Regions from separate parts of the Homo sapiens genome. Here regions 1, 2, 3, 4, 5 and 7 are each linked to region 6. The links are contacts of gene promoters, found by promoter capture Hi-C in blood cells and fetal thymus (Javierre and others, 2016). All regions are on one chromosome and are shown on one strand. The core of a region is centred on a gene start or on the middle of the fragment in contact, and the rest is flanking DNA. Distances in the headings are between cores, read along the strand shown.

The links. The method cuts DNA at HindIII sites, captures the fragments that hold promoters and counts their contacts. A CHiCAGO score of 5 or more calls a contact.
Region 1: a fragment that was not itself captured here is called in contact with the fragment with the promoter of ERLNC1 in region 6 in 5 of 17 cell types (M2 macrophages, endothelial precursors, M1 macrophages and 2 more); the score reaches 7.1 in M2 macrophages.
Region 2: a fragment that was not itself captured here is called in contact with the fragment with the promoter of ERLNC1 in region 6 in 2 of 17 cell types (M2 macrophages and neutrophils); the score reaches 9.0 in M2 macrophages.
Region 3: a fragment that was not itself captured here is called in contact with the fragment with the promoter of ERLNC1 in region 6 in 1 of 17 cell types (M2 macrophages); the score reaches 5.6 in M2 macrophages.
Region 4: a fragment that was not itself captured here is called in contact with the fragment with the promoter of ERLNC1 in region 6 in 1 of 17 cell types (M2 macrophages); the score reaches 5.7 in M2 macrophages.
Region 5: the fragment with the promoter of ZBED6 here is called in contact with the fragment with the promoter of ERLNC1 in region 6 in 6 of 17 cell types (M0 macrophages, M2 macrophages, fetal thymus and 3 more); the score reaches 8.1 in M0 macrophages.
Region 7: the fragment with the promoter of MDM4 here is called in contact with the fragment with the promoter of ERLNC1 in region 6 in 1 of 17 cell types (M2 macrophages); the score reaches 6.1 in M2 macrophages.

Annotation. Positions count from the first base shown.
Region 1 is chr1:203,882,820-203,885,519 of GRCh38, reverse strand. No RefSeq gene overlaps it. Among named protein-coding and RNA genes, the nearest start is that of SNRPE, 23 kb to the right of the region's middle. The HindIII fragment of the contact is 5,731 bases long and covers 1-2,700 here.
Region 2 is chr1:203,839,324-203,842,023 of GRCh38, reverse strand. It overlaps ZBED6 (zinc finger BED-type containing 6), which reads right to left. Exons shown (of 17, transcript NM_001395895.1): 11 at 1,650-1,718. It overlaps ZC3H11A (zinc finger CCCH-type containing 11A), which reads right to left. Exons shown (of 18, transcript NM_001376342.1): 12 at 1,650-1,718. Among named protein-coding and RNA genes, the nearest start is that of SNRPE, 21 kb to the left of the region's middle. RefSeq lists an enhancer at 1-482 and a silencer at 497-697. The HindIII fragment of the contact is 8,507 bases long and covers 1-2,700 here.
Region 3 is chr1:204,395,974-204,398,673 of GRCh38, reverse strand. It overlaps a transcript of PPP1R15B not described here. Among named protein-coding and RNA genes, the nearest start is that of PPP1R15B, 14 kb to the left of the region's middle. The HindIII fragment of the contact is 3,146 bases long and covers 1-2,700 here.
Region 4 is chr1:203,813,253-203,815,952 of GRCh38, reverse strand. All of the region lies in intron 1 of ZBED6 (zinc finger BED-type containing 6), which reads right to left. All of the region lies in intron 2 of ZC3H11A (zinc finger CCCH-type containing 11A), which reads right to left. Among named protein-coding and RNA genes, the nearest start is that of ZC3H11A, 19 kb to the right of the region's middle. The HindIII fragment of the contact is 2,754 bases long and covers 68-2,700 here.
Region 5 is chr1:203,794,189-203,796,888 of GRCh38, reverse strand. ZBED6 (zinc finger BED-type containing 6) reads right to left here and starts at 1,266. Exons shown (of 17, transcript NM_001395895.1): 1 at 1-1,266. It overlaps ZC3H11A (zinc finger CCCH-type containing 11A), which reads right to left and starts at 1,266. Exons shown (of 18, transcript NM_001376342.1): 1 at 1,095-1,266. RefSeq lists an enhancer at 1,146-1,565. The HindIII fragment of the contact is 5,182 bases long and covers 162-2,700 here.
Region 6 is chr1:204,140,020-204,142,719 of GRCh38, reverse strand. ERLNC1 (estrogen receptor responsive lncRNA 1) reads right to left here and starts at 1,312. Exons shown (of 3, transcript NR_123739.1): 1 at 1,244-1,312; 2 at 460-1,155; 3 at 1-71. ETNK2 (ethanolamine kinase 2) reads left to right here. Exons shown (of 8, transcript NM_018208.4): 4 at 1,263-1,405; 5 at 2,602-2,685. The HindIII fragment of the contact is 8,592 bases long and covers 1-2,539 here.
Region 7 is chr1:204,515,019-204,517,718 of GRCh38, reverse strand. MDM4 (MDM4 regulator of p53) reads right to left here and starts at 1,313. Exons shown (of 11, transcript NM_002393.5): 1 at 1,210-1,313. RefSeq lists enhancers at 1,041-1,320, 1,351-1,430, 1,441-1,570, 1,009-1,919, 860-2,059 and 1 more. The HindIII fragment of the contact is 1,369 bases long and covers 354-1,722 here.

The sequences.
Region 1 (2,700 bases), core at 21-2,520, 260 kb after region 6:
GAGAACAGCAGTTACCAGGGGCAGGGAAGGGGAGAAATGGGGAATGGTAGATTAAAGGGCAAAAACTGGCAGTTGTGTACGATGAGCAGGCCTAGAGACCTAATGGGCAGCATGAGGAAAACGGTTAATAATACTGTATTACATATGAAAAATTTGCTAAGACCGTAGATTTTAAGTGCTCTTACCAGACAAAAAAACAGGTAACTATGGAAGGTGACAGGTTAATTTGCCTGACTGTAGTAATTATTTCAGTGTTGTATACCTTATAGACAACTTAAAAAAGAAAATCCCAAGCAATCTACAAAAAAACACCTACTACAACAAAGAACTGAGTTTAGTAAGGTCATAGGATACAAGGTCAATAAAAACAATTGGAAGTCAAAATTATAAAAACAGTACCATTTACAGTGGCATCAAAAATATAAAACAGCCAGGTACAGTGGCTCATGCCTGCAATCCCAACAGTTTGGGAGGCCAAGGCAGGGCAATCACTTGAGCCCAGAAGTTTGAGACCAGCCTGGGCAACATGGTGAAATCCTTCCTCTACTAAAAATACAAAAAATTAGCTGGGCATGGTGGCATGCAGCTGTAGTCCCAGCTACTTGGGAGGCTGAGGTGGGAGAATCACCTGAGCCTGAGAAGTCAAGGCTGCAGTGCGCCATGACCCCACCTCTGCACTCCAGCCTGGTCAACAAGAGTGACACTGTCTCAAAAAAAGAAAAAAAGAGAAATACTCGTGAAGGGATAAACCTAACAAAATGTGGTAAAGCTGAAAACTACAAAATACTGATGAGAGAAACAGAAGAAAAATCCAAATAAATGGGGAGATATACCATATTCACCACTGGAAGACAATATTGTTTTTCATTTGTTTGCTTTGAGACAGATTTTCGCTCTTGTTGCCCAGGCTGGAGTGCAGTAGCTCGATTTCGGCTCACTGCAACCTCCACTTCCCAGGTTCAAGCAATTCTCCTGTCTCAGCCTCCCGAGTAGCTGGGATTACAGGCACACACCACCACCACCACGCCTGACTAATTTTTTTGTATTTTTAGTAGAGATGGGGTTTCACCATGTTGGCCAGGCTGGTCTTGAACTCCTGACCTCAGGTGATCCACCCGCCTCGGCCTCCCAAAGTGCTGGGATTACAGGCATGAGCCACTGCACCCAGCCAACAATATTGTTAGGATGACAATTTACCCCAAAATGCTTAATAGAGTTAATCAATCTCAACCAAAATCCCAGGTTGTTGTTTTTTTTAAAGAAATCAATAAACTGATTCTAAAATCTAAATGGAAAGGTAAAGACCCTAGAATAGCCAAAATACTTTGAAAAGGAAGAACACAATTGGAGGATTCAAATTACCCGAGGCCAAAGTTTACTACAAAGCTAAAGTAATCAAGACAATGTGGTATCATTAAAACAACAGACCTATAGGTCAACGAAACAATAAGAGAATTCAGAAAAATACCCACATATATGGTCAATTGGTTTTGAAAAAAGGTACTAAGGCAATTCATTGAAAACCAATAGCCTTAAACAAATGGTTCTTGAATAACTGATCATCCATATGAAAAAAAATGAACCATAATCCATAACTCACACCATTATTTTAAAAATTAACCCAAAATATATCATAAATGTAAAAATATAAGAATTTTAAAAGAGGCCAGGTGTGGTGGCTCACGCCTGTAATCTTAGCATTTTGGGAGGCCAATGCGGGCGGATTGCCTGAGCTTAGGAGTTTGAGAGTAGCCTGGGCAACATGGTAAAACTCCGTCTCTACTAAAATATAAAAAGTTAGCCAGGTGTGGCAGCGTGTACCTGTAGTCCCAGCTACTCGGGAGGCTGAGGCAGGAGAATTGCTTGAACCAGGGAGGTGGAAGTTGCAGTGAGCTGAAATTGTGCCACTGCACTCCAGCCTGGGCGACAGACCAAGACTCTGTCTCCAAAAATAAATAAATAAATAAATAAATAAATAAATAAATAAATACAAACATAAAACTTGTGTTCTTTTTTTTTTGAGACAGGTTCTCACTCTGTTTCTAAGGCTGGAGTGCAGTGGCATGATCTCAGCTCACTGTAGCCTCGACTTTCCAGGTTCAAATGATCTCCCACCTCAGCCCCCCAGACTTCAGTCCCCCAGGTAGCTGGGACTACAGGTGTGCACCACCATGCCCAGCCAGCTAAATTTTGTAGAGATGGGGTTTCACCATGTTGTCCAGGCTAAAACTTGTGTTCTTTAAAGATATTATAGAGAAATGAAGACAAGCCACAGACCAGCAGAAAATATTTGCAAAACACTTGATAAGGAACTTTTCATCCAGAAGAACCCTCCCAACACACACATAAAAAAGGAAATCAAACAACCCAATTTTTAAAAATCAGCAAAAAGTCTTAAGAGATACTTCACCAAAGAAATATGTGATATCAAATAAGCACATGAAAAGACACACAAAATCATTTGTCACAGGAAAATGACAATTAAAACAATGAGATACTGCTATTCATCTATTAGCATGGAGAAAAAAACAAAAACAAAAAATAAATCTGACAATACCAAGTGTTGGTGAGGATACAGAGCAACTAGAACTTTTTTTTTTTTTTTTTTTGGAGACGGAGTCTCACTTTGTTGCCAGGTTAAGTGCAGTGGCATGATCTCGGCTCACTGAAACCTCTGCCTCCCAGGTTCAAGTGATTCTC
Region 2 (2,700 bases), core at 165-2,664, 300 kb after region 6:
GAGCGCCTCTGCCCTGCCGCCCCGTCTGGGATGTGAGGAGCCCCTCTGCCCAGCCGCGGCCCCGTCTGGGAACTGAGGAGTGTCTCTGCCCGACCGCCACCCCATCTGGGAGGTGAGGAGCGTCTCTGCCCGGCCGCCCCGTCTGAGAAGTGAGGAGCCCCTCCGCCCGGCAGCCGCCCCGTCTGCGAAGTGAGGAGCCCCTCCGCCCGGCAGCCGCCCCGTCCGGGAGGGAGGTGGGGGGCGCCTCCACCCGGCCACTGCCCCGTCTGGGAGGTGGGGGGCGCCTCTGCCCGGCCGCCCTATCTGGGAAGTGAGGAGCCCCTCTGCCCAGCCACCACCCCGTCTGGGAGGTGTACCCAACAGCTCATTGAGAACGGGCCATGATGACAAAGGCGGTTTTGTCGAATAGAAAACGGGGAAATGTGGGGAAAAGAAAGAGAGATCAGATTGTTACTGTGTCTGTGTAGAAAGAAGTAGACATGGGAGACTCCATTTTGTTCTGTACTAAGAAAAATTCTTCTGCCTTGGGATGCTGTTAATCTATAACTTTACTCCCAACCCCGTGCTCTCTGAAACATGTGCTGTGTCCACACAGGGTTAAATTGATTAAGGGCGGTGCAAGATGTGCTTTGTTAAACAGATGCTTGAAGGCAGCATGCTCGTTAAGAGTCATCACCACTCCCTAATCTCAAGTACCCAGGGACACAAACACTGCAGAAGGCCGCAGGGTCCTCTGTCTAGGAAAACCACAGACCCTTGTTCACATGTTTATCTGCTGACCTTCCCTCCACTGTTGTCCTATGACCCTGCCAATCCCCCTCTCCGAGAAACACCCAAGAATGATCAATAAATACTAAAAAAAAAAATAAAAAAAAAAAAAAGATTCTTATGTTGCCCTAAATCAGGAGGTCAAAAGTGGTATGTGCTCTCTGTTATCTTTCTTCACTTGATACAATGCAAGTTGATTTTTCCATATCGTTGTTCAGCATTTGACTTTTCATGACAGCAATTATTTTAGCACATAACTATCATAATTTTATCTAAACCCTTTTTATTGTATATTTAAGTTGTTTCTAATTTCCTACTATTTAGCCGGGTGCGGTGGCTCGTGCCTGTAATCCCAGGATTTTGGGAGGCTGAGGCAGGTGGATCACCTAAGGTCAGGAGTTTGAGACCAGCCTGACCAACATGGTGAAACCCCGTCTCTACTAAAAATACAAATATTAGCAAGGCATGGTGGCGTACGCCTGTAATTCTAGCTACTCGGTAGGCTGAGGCAGGGGAATTGCTTGAACCCAGGAGGTGGAGGTTGCAGTGAGCTGAGACCTTGCCATTTAACTCCAGCCTGGGCAACAAGAGCAAAACTCTGTCTCAAAAATAAATAAAATAAATAAATAAATAAATAAATAAATAAATAATTTCCTACTATTAATGCTATGATGAACAATCATTTTACCATCTCTAAGCACAAAAAAGGAATTGATCCCAGTTGAGTCTGAGCTGACTTGATCAATTACTTAAAAAACAAACAGAACTACAAAAGAACAAAAATCAAAAGCCCTAGCAAGCAACAGGTAAATCTGAGAAAAAGCAAAGGCTCTTACAGCAAAGAAAAAAATAATCAGAATCTGGTCTTAGGATTTACTTACCTGTTGCATCCTCATTATCTGGATCAGCTGACATGCCTAATCGCTCCTTAAGAGACTTGGAAACTTGAGCTGTGAAAAGAAAGATTTTCAAAAATCAAAAGTTGAACAGAAACTTTTTACAGCTTAAATACAGGTTTGCTGGGCATGGTGGCATACACCTGTAATCCCAGAACTTTGGGAGGCCAAGGCAGGCTGATCACTTGAGGTCAGGACTTCAAGGCCAGCCTGGCCAACATGGTGAAACCCCATCTCTACTAAAATTGCAAAAATTAGCTGGGCGCAGTGGCTCACGCTTGTAATCCCAGCACTTTGGGAGGCTGAGGTGGGTGGATCACTTGAGGTCAGGAGTTCAAGACCAGCCTGGCCAACATGGTGAAACCCCATCTCTACTAAAAACACAAAAATTAGCCGGGTGTGGTGGCACATGCCTGTAATCTCAGATACTCTGGAGGCTGAGACAGGAGAATCGTTTGAACCCGGGAGGTGGAGGTTGGGGTGAGCTGAGATAGCGCTACTGCACTCCAGTCTGGGTGACAGAGTGAGACTCTGTCTCAAAAAACAAAAATACCAAAAGAAACAAAGAAAAACGTACTTTATATCTGAAAAGCAAAAACTACTGAATTAAAGGAAATAATTTTGTTATTGTAGAGCCTTCTAAAACCTTACTGTCATTGAAATAATTTTTCCTCCAAGTAAATTTAAAATATGCTCCTTAGTTATGAAAATCTTCAACATGGTCAATACACAAGGAGGAAAACAATGTGGCAAAGAAAGTAACTTTTGCTTGCTCTGAGAATGCAAGAAAACCTCCAAACAGGAACGTCTACTCATCAAAGTCCCTTGGGCAAGGGGAAAAATTAAAAGAAGTTTCTTATTTCAAAGAAAGTTAAAACCAAACACAATGAGAAGGAAAAAAACACCTATTCTTTAATAATTTAACGCCAGTGTTTCACTGCAAGTCATACAAGCAGAAAAAACATAAATCTAACCTTGGCTTTTTGCTCTCCTTCAACTATAAAGAATTCTAATTCCCTGAGGGGCGCAATAGTGC
Region 3 (2,700 bases), core at 5-2,504, 260 kb before region 6:
TGCTATTGCTCCCCTGGAGGTGGGTCCCTCAATGTGTAAACAAGCTGGAAAACTGCCCTGCCCTGCCCATTCCAGGCCTGCCTGGCCCAGTGTGACTCCACCTTTTTGTGGTAATTACCCAGAAGTAGGGGCTCTTTCTTATAGGAGAACCAAGATTTGTATTTGAACACAAACAAAGGAACTGATTTTTTTTTTGAGTCTTGCTGTCGCCCAGGCCTAGGCTGGAGTACAGTGGCACGGTCATAGCTCACTGCAGCCTCCAACTTTTGGGCTTAAACAATCCTCCCACCTCAGCCTCCCAAGTAGCTAGGACCACAGGCATGCACCACATTGCCTGGCTAATTTTATTATTTTTGTGTGTAGAGATGGGGTCTAATTATATTGCCTAGGCTGGTCTCAAACTCCTGGCTTCAAGAGATCCTACTGCCTGGGGCTCCCAAAGTGTCGCGATTACAGGCATGAGCCACCTCACTTGGCCCTTGTATACTTTTTTATCACTGTTCAAGTCACATTGAATTTTAATTGTGATTTGCTCTTTCCTTTCTTCCTCTGTGGTGGAAGGGTCTGCGCAGTGACCAGAGTATTTTAGACACATGATACACTTTTCTTTAACTCAAGTGGTAATTTCCATAGCCTCTTTTTTCCAACACACAGGCTCCCTCCCGACATAACAAGTAATTTATGAATTCATTTCAAAGAAGCAATTTTGTATGTGAAAAGGTCTATCTTCAATGTTTACATTATTTTGTATTTGTAGTATTTGATTTTTTTTTTTTTGAAAAGCTAGCATTATTAGTGATGACCTGAAACCCAAAGTTTTAAATCAGTTGATGTAAGGTCGTCATGACTACTCTTTCCAGTGGTAGCCTAAGGTTCGCTGAAACATTGTCATCGTTATGAAAGGCACTTCATTATGCAGGATACCATTCATATCCAGTTTTCTAAGATGGTTGAGGACATTGTTTTTTAAACTTTTCTGTTTTTTAAATTGACAAAAATTGTATATGTTTACTGTCTACAACATGATGTTTTGAAATATGTGTACATTGTGGAATGGTAAGTCAAGCTAATTAACATGTATTACCTCACATACTTAGCATTTTTTTTGTGGTAAGAACCCTTAAAATCTACTCTTAGCAATTTCCTTTTTCTATTTATTTATTTATTTGAGACAAGCTGGAGTGCAGTGGTGCAATTTCGCCTCACTGTAACCTCCGCGTCCTGGGCTCAAGCAATTCTCATGTCTCAGCCTCCCAAGTAGCTGGGACTACAGGCGCGTGCCACCACACCCGGCTAATTTTTTGTATTTTAGTAGAGACAGGTTTCACCCCATGTTGCCCAGGGTGGTCTCGTACTCCTGAGCTCAGGTGATCTGCCTGCCTTGGCCTTCCAAAGTGCTGGGATTACAGGCGTGAGCCATCACGCCTGGGCTTTTTATTTATTTATTTTATTTTATTTTATTATTTATTTATGTATTTATTTATTTTGAGACAGAACCTTGCTCTGTTGCCAAGCTGGAGTGCAGTGGCATGATCATGGCTTTCTTCAGCCTCAACCTCCTGGGCTCAGGCAATCCTCTTGCCTCAGTTTCCCGAGTAGCTGGGACCACAGGCTCACACCACCACAACAGGCTAATTTTTAAGTTATCTGTAGGGGCGAGATCTCCCTATATTGCCCAGGCTGGTCTTGAAGTCCTAGGCTTAAGTGTTCCTCCTGCCTCCCAAAGTGTTGAGATTACAGGTGTGAGCCACCTCACCTGGCCAATTTGCAAGAATATAATACATTGTTATTGACTATGGTCACCATGTCGTACAGTAGATCTCTTGAACTTATTCCTCCTCACTGAAAGTTTGTATCCTTTGAGCAACGTCTCCCCAACCCACTTCTTGTTTTTTATTAACTTATTAAAGTATAATTTACAATAAGTTTCACTCATTTTAAGTATGAATTCAATGAGTTTTGATAAACACGTGTAGTCATATAAACACCACCACTATCAAAATATGGATCATTTCCATCACCCAGAAAGTTCCCTTATGTTCTTTTGTATTCGGTCCCCTTCCCAACCTCCAGCTTTTGGCAGCCATTGCTTTTCTTTTCTTTGTCTTTTTTTTTTTTTTTGACAGACAGGGTCTTACTGTCACCCAGGCTGGAGTGTAGTGGTGTGATCACGGCTCACTGCAGCCTTATCTCCCTGGGTTCAGGTGATCCTCCCACCTCAGCCTCCTGAGTAGCTGGGACTACAGCTGTGTGCGACCACACCCAGCTGGTTTTTTGTTTTTTTTTTTTTGTTTTTGTTTTTGCTTTTTTTTTTTTTTTTGTATTTTTAGTAGAGATAAGGTTTTGGCATGTTGCCCAGGCTAGTCTTGAACTTCTGGGCTCAAGAGATCTGCCTGTTTTGGCCTCCCAACATGCTGGGATTGCAGGTGTGAGCCACCACGTCTGGCCTTTGATCTGCTTTCAACACTTTTAGCTCTTCTAGAATTTCAGAAAAATGGTATCGGATGTACAGCATGGACCCTTCTGTGGTGGGCTTCTTTACTGTAATGCTTTTGAGATTCATCTGTGCTGTTGAGTGTCTCTGCAGTCCATTCCTTCTGTTGAGTGTATCAGTAGTCCATTCCTTTTCATGGCTGAGTAGTATTTCATTGTATAATTATACCACTATTTGTTCATTTACTAGATAATAAACAGTTGGCT
Region 4 (2,700 bases), core at 195-2,694, 330 kb after region 6:
CAACAAATATTTTCTCCCCTAGTCCATGGCATACCCTGATCTCCACACTAAAACGTCCAAGCAAGCTTCTACAAAAGCATATAACAAAAGCACATACGAGAATATGGAAAGGGTTTCCACAAACGTACATACCAGAAGATCAGGTTTCAGAAATAGTGATCTACAACTTGAAATCAATTAAATCAAATTCAGTCATATCTCCCACTAATAATTCCTAATGCAAGAATGGTATGCCATGATGAAAAGTCACCTTGATGTTAACAACCTGGATTAAGAGTCTGACACTGAACATGGGTACTAAACATGTACCCAAATGTTTAAAGTTTACATACCCTTCGACAATTCCATTTCTAGAATGTATTATAATATGTAAAAGTATTAAAGGTAACAATGCACAATAAATGTTATCACAATCTTGTTTTAATAATGAAATAGGCCGGGTGCAGTGGCTCATACCTATAATCCCAGCACTCTGGGAGGCCAAGGTGGGCAGATCGCTTGAGTCCAGGAGTTCGAGACCAGCCTGGACAACATGGCAAAACCCCATCTCTTAAAAAAAAAAAAAAAAAAAAAGCTGGGTGTGGTGGCACACTCCTGTGATCCCAGCTACACGGGGGAGCTGAGGCACAAGAATCACTTGAACCCAGGAGGCAGAGGTTGCAGTGAGCTGACATTGCGCCACTGCACTCCAGCTTGGGCAACAGAGCGAGACACTGTCTCAAAAAAAAAAAAAAAAGAAAAGAAAAGGAAGAAAATAATGAAATAACATCTAGAAACCTAACTGTTCAAAAACTGGAGACTATTTTTAAAAATTATGATATATGGCCAGGCACGGTGGCTCATGCCTGTAATCCCAGCACTTTGGGAGGTGGAAGCTGGTGGATCACTTGAGGTCAGGAGTTTGAGAACAGCCTGGACAACATGGCGAAACCCCATCTCTACTAAAAATACAAAAATTACCCAGGTGTGGTGGCACACACCTGTAGTCCCAGCTACTCAGGAGCCTAAGGTAGGGAAACTTCTTGAACCCGGGAGGTGGAGGTTGCAGTGAGCCGAGATCATGCACTGCACTCCATCCTGGACAACAGAGTGAGACTCTATCTCAAAAATAAACAAATGATTTAAAAAAATTACGGTATATTCATGTAATGTGACAATATACAGCCATTAGAGTTTCATACCAGAAAGTGAATGCTGCTGTAAAAAACCAAAAACAAAAAAATCTAAAAATATGTAAGCAGCTTTGTTATTGGGTCATAGGTGGAGGCTGGAAGACTTTTGAGGTACTTGATAGAAAAGGCCTAGAAGAAACTGCTGCTAAAGCATATGAACGTTAAAGGTACTTAAGGTACTTATGGTGAGGTTTCAGTCAGAAATTAGGATCGTGTTATTGGAAACTGGAGGAAAGGTTATTCTTTTTTTTTTCTTTGAGATGGAGTCTTGCTCTGTCACCCAGGCTGGAATGCAATGGTGCCATCTTGGCTCACTGCAACCTCTGCCTCCCAGGTTCAAGCAATTCTCCCGCCTCAGTCTCCCAAGTAGCTGGAATTACAGGCTTGCACCACCACATATGGCTAATTTTTGTATTTTTAGTAGAGACAGGGTTTCGCCATGTTGGCCAGGCTGGTCTTGAACTTCTGACCTCAGATGATCCTCCCACCTCAGCCTCCCAAAGTGCTGGGATTACAGGTGTGAGCCAGCGCCTGGCCGGAAAGGTTATTCCTGTTAAAAAGTGGCAGAGAACTTAGAATTGGGTTGTGTTGGGCAGAAGGCAGAACCTGGAAGCAATGAACTTGGGTTTTAGCTGAGGAGATTTCTAAGCAAAGTGTGGAAGGAACAGCCTGGGCTTTTCCTGCTGCTTACAGTGAAATGCAAGGAGAGAGACATATTGAGGCAAGAACTATGAAGCAAAAAGGAATAAAGAATCTGAACTTGAAAATTTAGAAAATTCTCACTCTATCCATATTGCAAAAAAAAAAAACAAGAATGTATGCTCTGTAGAGAAAAGGGTATGGGTGGGCAACAGTTTGTTGGAGATTAGGTGTGTGACTAGATTCAGGCAACCATCTTAGCAAAAAATGTTGCCAGCTTAAAATGAAAGAGACAGACATGTACAGAGGGAATGTGATGAGAAGACACACAAGGAGAAGATGACCATGTGGCTGGAGTGATGCATCTACAAACCAAGGAATGCCAAGGATTGCCAACAAACACCAGAAGCCAGAATGGGTAAGGATCATTCCTCTACAGGCTTCAGAGGGAGAATGGCCCTGCTGAAAACATTTTAGACATCTCACCTTCAGAATTGTGAGACAACAAACTTCTGTAGCTACCCAGTTTGTGATACTTTGTTATGGAAGTCCTAGGAACTAATACAGATAACAAGCATAGTCAAATGACCTTTGACAAAGGGGAAAAGGATAGTCTTTTCAACATATGTTACTGGAACAAATGGATATCCACATATAAAAAAATAATTTTAGACACAGACTTTATACTTTTCACAAAAAATAACATGGATAACAACTTAAATACAAAAGAAAACCAATAAATTGGTTTTCAATAAAAACCATTAAAATTTAGCCAGGCATGGTGGTGAATGCCTGTGATCCCAGCTACTGAGGAGGCTGAGGCAAGAGAATTGCTTGAACCTGGGAGGCGGAGGTTGCAGTGAGCTGAGATCACACCACTGCACTCCAG
Region 5 (2,700 bases), core at 17-2,516, 350 kb after region 6:
CTAACTAAAAGTAATACAACCTTTTAAAATGTGAGTGGCTGGAAAAAAATGCTTTGAGAAAAAAATTTTAAAACAAGGTTAAATGCTGCATTTTCAAAGTACTGTTTGTATTAAGAGTTAATTCAAGTTTAGTTTTCAGATATTTTTAGACTTGAGAAGCTTTTACAGCCTGTAAGTAACTCACAAGTTGTACGCTATAGAGATAGCAAAAAGTGAAATATGAACTTTAAACCACTTCCATTTTTCGATTGATCCCTCCCCTTCCCCCAATACCTACATACATTTACCCTAAAAAGCATCGCTATCTCTAGTTCCACAGCCTCTTTCTCAAGGTCCAGAACCAAGGCCTGGAAGATGTCAACAATATAGGCCTTCCCCATAGGAATCCGCACCGATTATGGGAGTTTAGGGGTGTTCTTCATTACGGTTTCACCAGTCCTACAAGGAGAACGGAAGTGTCCCTGTTGCTCTTGACTCCGACGCTGAGGGCCAGGGGTGGGAGTGTAATGAGAGTGGGGAATGGGTGTAGGATACCGGAATAAGGTCGGTGGCTTTCTGTATGTGGAGTTTGAGACAAGCTCCAAAGTACCGGGACCCTGGAGAGGAATGAGAGTAGGTAAATTCAGCGCCCGGCACTCAGTCTGATTGATTTAGGCAGTGAGGGTCCGCTCAACTAGAGAAACTGTTGCCCCGAAGAAAGCAATCTAGTGTCAGTTCTCTCTTCGGGATTCGGGGGAACAGTCGGTTTTCGGGGCTGCTCCGGGCTCCTCGAGATTAGCGAACACCGGATGTGGGGGAGGGGAGGAAGGTTGGCTGGGAAAGGAGCAGGCGCCGTGGGGGTGGGGTGAACGGGGTGGGGGTGGGGAGGATGGGAAAAGTGAGCGGGAGCCTGGGGCTCCCAGCCAGCCCCGGCGAGGGCCGCGACCGGGAGGTGGGGGGGAGGGGTCGTTACGGCGAAGCTGAAGGATCCGCTCTGACTTCCCGGGATAGGCCGCGACCCAGGGGCGAGGGGAGGCCGCTGCCACTCCCCTCGCCCTCTCCCCCACCTCCCCGGCCCCAAGCCACCCGGGAATCAAAAAAACGGGTCTAGTTACCAGAGAACAGAAACTTTACCGAACCGATGACACTATCCCCGACTCCCGCTTGCTGCCACGTCTTTCTTCTTGCTTGGCCGCTGCCGTCCGTCGTCCTCCCAGCAGCAGCAGCACTAGCAGAAAACCAAGACTGCCAGCGTCAAAGATGGCGCCTGGCTACAGGCTCCGCTCTAAGGCCCGGCCGGTAAAAGTGCCAGCACGACGCAGGGCGCGAGGATTCTGGAAGATGTAGTTCCTCTATGAGGCGATGCCTAAGATGGCTGCTCCGGGTCACAGGGTCACGTGACGGGGGAGGCGCTGGGTCGGGGAGTCCCTTCCCTTCAGAGGAATGCCTCGAAGCCGGCTTTCATAACGTTTTGTTTTTGTTTTTAAATCAAATGAGGTAATAAGCGGGAGGGCCGCAGGAACTGAGACTGCCATTCAGTAAGCGCTCAATTTATTCTTACCAAAGTGTTTGCTTAATGAGTAAATCTCCCAAACCATGTATACATTTAATTTAGAAATAAACTGTACTTTTCCTAAGCATGCAATGTAGAATGATTTGTTAGTTTATTTTTTACTTGAAGAAGTGAGATTGGGCTTTGGGGGGGTGTTTCTTTGATTTCTTAAAGCAAATTTGTGTATTGGAAAAGTAATTCATGCTCGTGACAAAATTCAGGAGAGTTAGTTGGAGGTCGCAATCAGCAGTCTCATCCCTGCTTCATTATTAACATTGTCCCTTATTTTCCCTTTTGAATGTTTTTACTTTTTCCCCCGGTTATAAAAGTAATACACGTGGCCGGTGCGGTGGCTCACGACTGTAATTCCAGCACTTTGGGAGGCCTCGGCAGGCGGATCACAAGGTCAAGAGATCGAGACCATCCTGGTCAACATGGTGAAACCTCATCTTTACCAAAAATACAAAAATTAGCTAGGCGTGGTGGCACGCGCCTGTAGTCCCAACTACTCGAGAGGCTGAGGCAGGAGAATCGCTTGAATCTGGGAGGCAGAGGTTGCATTGAGCTGACATCGCACCACTGCACTCCAACCTGGCGACAGAGTAAGACTCCATCTCAAAAAAAAAAAAAAAAAAAAAAAGTAAAAAACTTAATACACGTAAGTTTTTTTAGAAACAATACAGAAATATAGAGAGTAGAAAGTTAAAATCTCTATTAATCTCATTCTTGAGAAATAGCTCTCATTAACTTACCATATATCCTTTCTGGCTTTTACACTGAAAATATACTTAAATATATTACACATATAATAGGAGCCCAAGGTCCCCCTGGGGTAGTGGCTCAGCAGAACTCTAATTAGGTGGCAACATTTTACCTAACTTGGGTAAAGGATATAGTTGTGCTACTAAGAAAGGAAACACTTGATGATAAAGCAGATGGGACTTCAGGCACCTTTTATTTCCTCGTGTGCTTGTTCTTCCAGCTGCCGGGTTGGTGATGTGCGAGTCCCAGGCAGCCCAAGACTAGGAATTTATCAGAGCAGAGGGGTCCTGAGCCTCCTCATATCTGGGCTTTTATCTCCTTTCAAAGTAAGAACCACAACTTTAGAATCTTAGCTCCAATCTCTGCCTTACGTGACAGTGCTCTGGCATTGCCATGTCAACAGACCT
Region 6 (2,700 bases), core at 63-2,562:
TCGGTCTGTCCTGTGGGAAGGTGAGAGAGGGCCGGTCTCATCCTCATCCTTCTCTATGTGCTCTTGCTACCCTGGACAGAGAAACACAAACAGGTGACACAGGAATGGAGATAAAAGCCCAGCCTCCTCCCCTCTGCCCATTGGTGGTTCTAGGTTTTTTAAGGACTGTGATAAGTGTTTGGCCTTTTCAGTGTACACAGACCTGTGTGCCTCCTGGGGACCAAAGTTCAGAGCACACAAGCACAGTGGACCCTCATCAGACTTCCACATGGCCTCTGATAACTTGATTGATTGGCTGATTTCTTCATTCCTCAACATGTGTTTCTTTCAGCAGAAATGGCTGCTGAGTGCTTGGGATGGGGGTGGGGCAGCAGGAGAGGTTGACCCATGCATCTTTGTTCATGCCCCCAGGTTGCACTTGCATGATATGGCAGGGGTCTGGGACAAGGGAACACTTACTCATAACTCAAGGTAGAAGGGATGAGTCAATGGGGAGCCACAAAGCAAGCATGCTCTTCATTGAAGGCTTTAATGTTCCTTTGACAGTGTAGGAGTGAGCTAAAGAAGCTCTTAGTTTGCTTTCTCATGTGAGCCGATGGTCTGTTTGTGAGATGAGAGGTTAGACCAGACCGTCTCTCTGATCCCTTCTACCTGTGACATGGTCAGCTGCTGGGGTGAGAGGGGGGTGCATACCAGGACATACCTCTGCCTCCTCAAGAGAGCTCCATTGCTCCAGCTCCCTGCCAGGGCACTACTCTTCCTCCTGGGGAGGATCTTTGTGGGAGTCAGCTCGACTTAGGGAGCTGCACCGCCTCCTGGGGAGTTTTCCCAGCATCCTAAGATCAGGTCTGTTTTGCATCTCTCCCCACTGCTCCTGTTGCCCTTGTTCTTAGTCTGGAATCCCCAGGTCTGGACACTCGTTCTCACCTGCCTTGTCCTTTCCCTGTGTCTCCTTCCTTACCCTCCTGTTCCTTTCACAAAGTAGCAGGGATGCCCTCAGTCAGTGACTTTTATGCTCTGCCTCATGCTTTGACGCCCATGTCTTTATCAGCTTCCTAGCATAACCAGAGGAGTCAGAAGGACAGGACGCCTCAGTGCCATTTTACAGATGATAAAAGTGAGGGTCTAAGAGATTGGCCATTTTTCCAAGGCCCCCTGCAGTAAGACAGAGGGAGTGATGAGGCTCAGATTCAGGGCTCTTGAGGCCAAGCACCTGTCTATCAGCCCTCCTTTCACTGGCTACCTTTTTTGCCACTGCCCAGCCTTTCTGCAGATGTCCCTAAGGTAGAGGTGTTGGAACGGGAGCTGGCCTGGCTGAAGGAGCATCTGTCCCAGCTGGAGTCCCCTGTGGTGTTTTGTCACAATGACCTGCTCTGCAAGAATATCATCTATGACAGCATCAAAGGTATGGCTTCTCTGGCCCTGGGGCAGCAGCAGGGTTTTGGTTGGTTGGTTAGCTGGCTTCACGGAGCTGTTCTTCCGGCTGGCACTTGGACAAGCAAAAGTTAGACCTTGATTTAGGTCTTAAGTTAATTTGTAGGAGGGAAGGGGGAAAGGAAATAAAAAATTCCCACTTTGAAAAGTCTGTGCCAAGGGCCAGTCTCAGTGGCTCATGCCTATAATCCCAGCAGTTTGGGAGGCCAAGGCATGTGGATTGCTTAAGCCCAGGAATTCAAGACCAGCCCAGGCAATGTGGTGAGACCCTGTCTCTACAAAAAAAATACACAAAACTTTTCCTGGTATGGTGGTACATGCTATAGTCCTAGCTCCTCGGGAGGCTGAGGCAGGAGAATCACTTGAGCCTGGGAGGTGGAGGCTGCAGTGAGCCATGATGGAGCCACTACACTCCAGCCTGGGCAACAGAGCAAGACCCTATTTAAAAAAAAAAAAAAAGTCTGGCCAGGCGCGGTGGCTCATGCCTGTAATCCCAGCACTTTGGGAGGCTAAGGCGGGTGGATCATGAGGTCAGGAGTTCAAGACCAGCCTGGCCAACATGGCGAAACCCCATCTCTACTAAAAATACAAAAATTAGCTGGGCATGGTGGTGTGCGCCTGTAATCCTAGCTACTCAGGAGGCTGAGGCAGGAGAATCGCTTGAACCAGGGAGGCAGAGGTTGCAGTGAGCCGAGATCATGCCACTGTACTCCAGCCTGGGCGACAGAGCGAGACTCTGTCTCAAAAAAAAAAAAGACAAAAACAAACAAACAAAAATCTGTGCCAAGAAAGAGAGAGAACGAACACATCCTGGTGTTGCTGATGAGGGCATCACCCCAGGGCGTATTAATACTTAGCTTTATTCCTGATCCTTAGCCATGCTGAGGACAGCTGTCTTTAGATGAGGAGAGCCTGAAGATCCAGCTGTGTGAGAGGGACACTGGGAGCTGGGAAGGGCAGATGGATGGATGGATGGATGGATGGATGGATGGATGGATGGATGAATGGAAGTAGCTTGGAAGACTGCTGCAGTGATGGGATTGGGCAGGGTTGCTGCAGAGGCCGGCATCACTCAGTGGGTGCATCCCAGAGGTCTGTGGAAGCTTGACCAGGCTCTGTTGCCAGATCTCCTGGGCCAACTCTCATCGATTCTCCTCTACTTCATAGGTCACGTGCGGTTCATTGACTATGAATATGCTGGCTACAACTACCAAGCTTTTGACATTGGCAACCATTTCAATGAGTTTGCAGGTGAGAGGGGCATTT
Region 7 (2,700 bases), core at 64-2,563, 370 kb before region 6:
TTTAAACTGTGGTTTTCGGCCGGGCACGGTGGCTCACGCCTGTAATCCCAACACTTTCGGAGGCCGAGGTGGGCGGATCACCTGAGGTCTGGAGTTCGAGAACAGCCTGGCCAACCTGGTGAAACCTCATCTCTAATAAAACACAAAATTAGCCAGGCGTGGTGGCGCACACCTGTAATCCCAGCGACCCGGGAGGCTGAGGCAGAAGAATCACTTGAACCCGTGAGGCAGAAGTTGCAGTGAGCCAAGATCGCGCCACTGCACGCCAGCCTGGGCAAAAAGAGCGAAACTCCACTCAAAAAAAACAAAAACAAAACAAAAACACAACCAAAAAAACCTGTGGTTTTCAAGCTTTAAGGTATACAAAAATCACTGGGAGGTGTGCTCATTAAAATATATTTCTCTGAGCCCCATCTCGATACTGTCTGTAGGTTTCAGTGTGGCCCCAAAACGAACATTTTTTCTTTTTTTTTTTTTGAGACGGAATCTCCCTCTGTAGCCCAAGCTGGAGTGCAGTGGCGCGATCTCGACTCACTGCAACCCCCGCCCACGGATTCAAGTGATTCTCCTGCCTCAGCCTCCCGAGTAGCTAGGATTACAGGCATGCGCCACCACACACATCTAATATTTTTGTATTTTTACTAGAGACGGGGTTTCACCAGGTTGGCCAGGTTGGTCTCGAACTCCTGTCCTCAGGTAGATCCACCCACCTCGGCCTCCTGAAGTGCTGGGATTACAGGCGTGAGCCACCGCGCCAAGCCAAAACAAGCATTTTCAAACAAGCACTCAAGTGCCTCTAAGGTAGACTGTCCGCAGACCTAAAAACTAACTTAAAAACTTAAGACACGTCAATGTCATTCTACCCGGTTCCCTCTCTCCCACCTCCTTTCTCCAAATTGCCTCAACAGTCCTCAAATGTTGTGTCCAGTTAAACTCAATCCAACTACGTCGACTTTAGGTTTGTCACCTGTTGGCCAAAGTTACTTCACGTCACCCCACCTCCACTTTTATCTTCCGCGAGCCCTCATCCCACAACTCTTCCCCTCCCCCCGAGCCCTTCTTCCGCCTGGCGCGGCCTTCCCCACGCCGCCCGACCCACCTCTCAAGCTCCTCCCGCCCGCTACCCGCACAACTGGCGGTACGGCCGCCTGCTCCTCACTCTCCAGCTCCCGCTCCCGGCACCCCGCCGACGAAGGCCAAGAGCCACACCTTACGGCAGCTCCATGAGTCGCTCCCCCGCCGAGCCCGGGTGGGGGGAGGGGTGGCAGTCACAGATCCTAGGGCCTCGGCAGCATTTTGAAATGGCGAGTAATGAAGCCGCAACTTCCGGCCTCCCACACGGCCTCACACGAGGGCTTCCGGTGAGGCCTCCGGAAACCATAGATGGAGCAATGGGAGGACTAGAGAGCTAGAAAGGCTGAGCTCACTACCATAGAGTAGATCCTAGTCCGGGGAGAGAGTCGTGGGGCCCGAACGGTTGAAAGTCGTCAGATTTGAAGAGATAATAAGTGAGGGACTTGCAGGGTCTTGTGATATTTACAGACGTGTATTAGGAGATCAGAAAACAGAGAAGAGGAAGAGCTAAGGTCATAATCACAGGCTGCCTTCAGCTCTTCGGAAAAACTACGCTTCCTCTGCCATTCCCCAGTCCTCACCCTTACTCCCCAAGGGTGGTAGGGAAGGGAAACGGAGCGATGGCGGCACTAGGGTGGCAAGGAAGCTTGAAGCCATGTCAAATAAATAGTTGAAAGCACCAGCCGCTGTGGCTCACGCCTGTAATCCCAGCACTTTGGGAGGCCTAAGGCAGGCGGATCACCTGAGGTCAGGAGTTCGAGACCAGTCTGACCAATATGGTGAAACCCTGTTTCTACTAAAAATACAAAATTAGTCGGGTGTGGTGGCGCATGCCTGTAATCCCAGCTACTCAGGAGAATCGTTTGAACTTGGGAGGCGGAGGTTGCAGTGAGCCGAGATAGCGCCATTCCAGCCTGGGCAACAAGAGCGAAACTCCTCAAAAAAAAAAAAAAAAAAGAAAAAGAAATAGTTGAAGGCTCAAGGGAGTTTTTAACCTGCATATAAACGAGGGAGGCCGGGCGCAGTGGCTCTCCCCTGTAATCCCAGCGCACTTTGGGAGGCCGAGGCGGGCGGATCACCTGAGGTCAGCAGTTCGAGACCATCCTGCCCAACATGGCGAAACCCCCGTTTCTACTAAAAATACAAAAAATTAGCGGGGCATGGTGGCGGTCACCTGTAATCCCAGCTACTTAGGAGGCCGAGGCAGGAGAATCGTTTGAACCCGGGTGGCGGAGGTTGCAGTGAGCCGAGATAGCGCCATTGCACTCCAGCCTGGGCGACAAGAGCGAAACTGCATCTCAAAAAAAAAAAAAAAAAAAAAGAGGGAAAGGGTTGAGCATAGAAATTGGAAGCTGTCTTCAAATAACTGAATAGTATAATATTGGAAATAACGGAGCCTTATTCTCTTCTCCAAAGTGCAGAACTAAAACCAATAGAAATTACAAGGCAGTATTTTTAAGCTCAGAAAATCCTCTAACATTTAGAGTTGTTCTGAAATAAATGAAATTAGGTATTTGGGGGAAGTAATGTCATTTGAAGACAGCCTGCCTGAGAGGTTTGTTGAAAGCTCTTCTATATTAGGAAACATTAAAACTGGCTGTGTAACCCAAGAAAGCTCCATCTCAG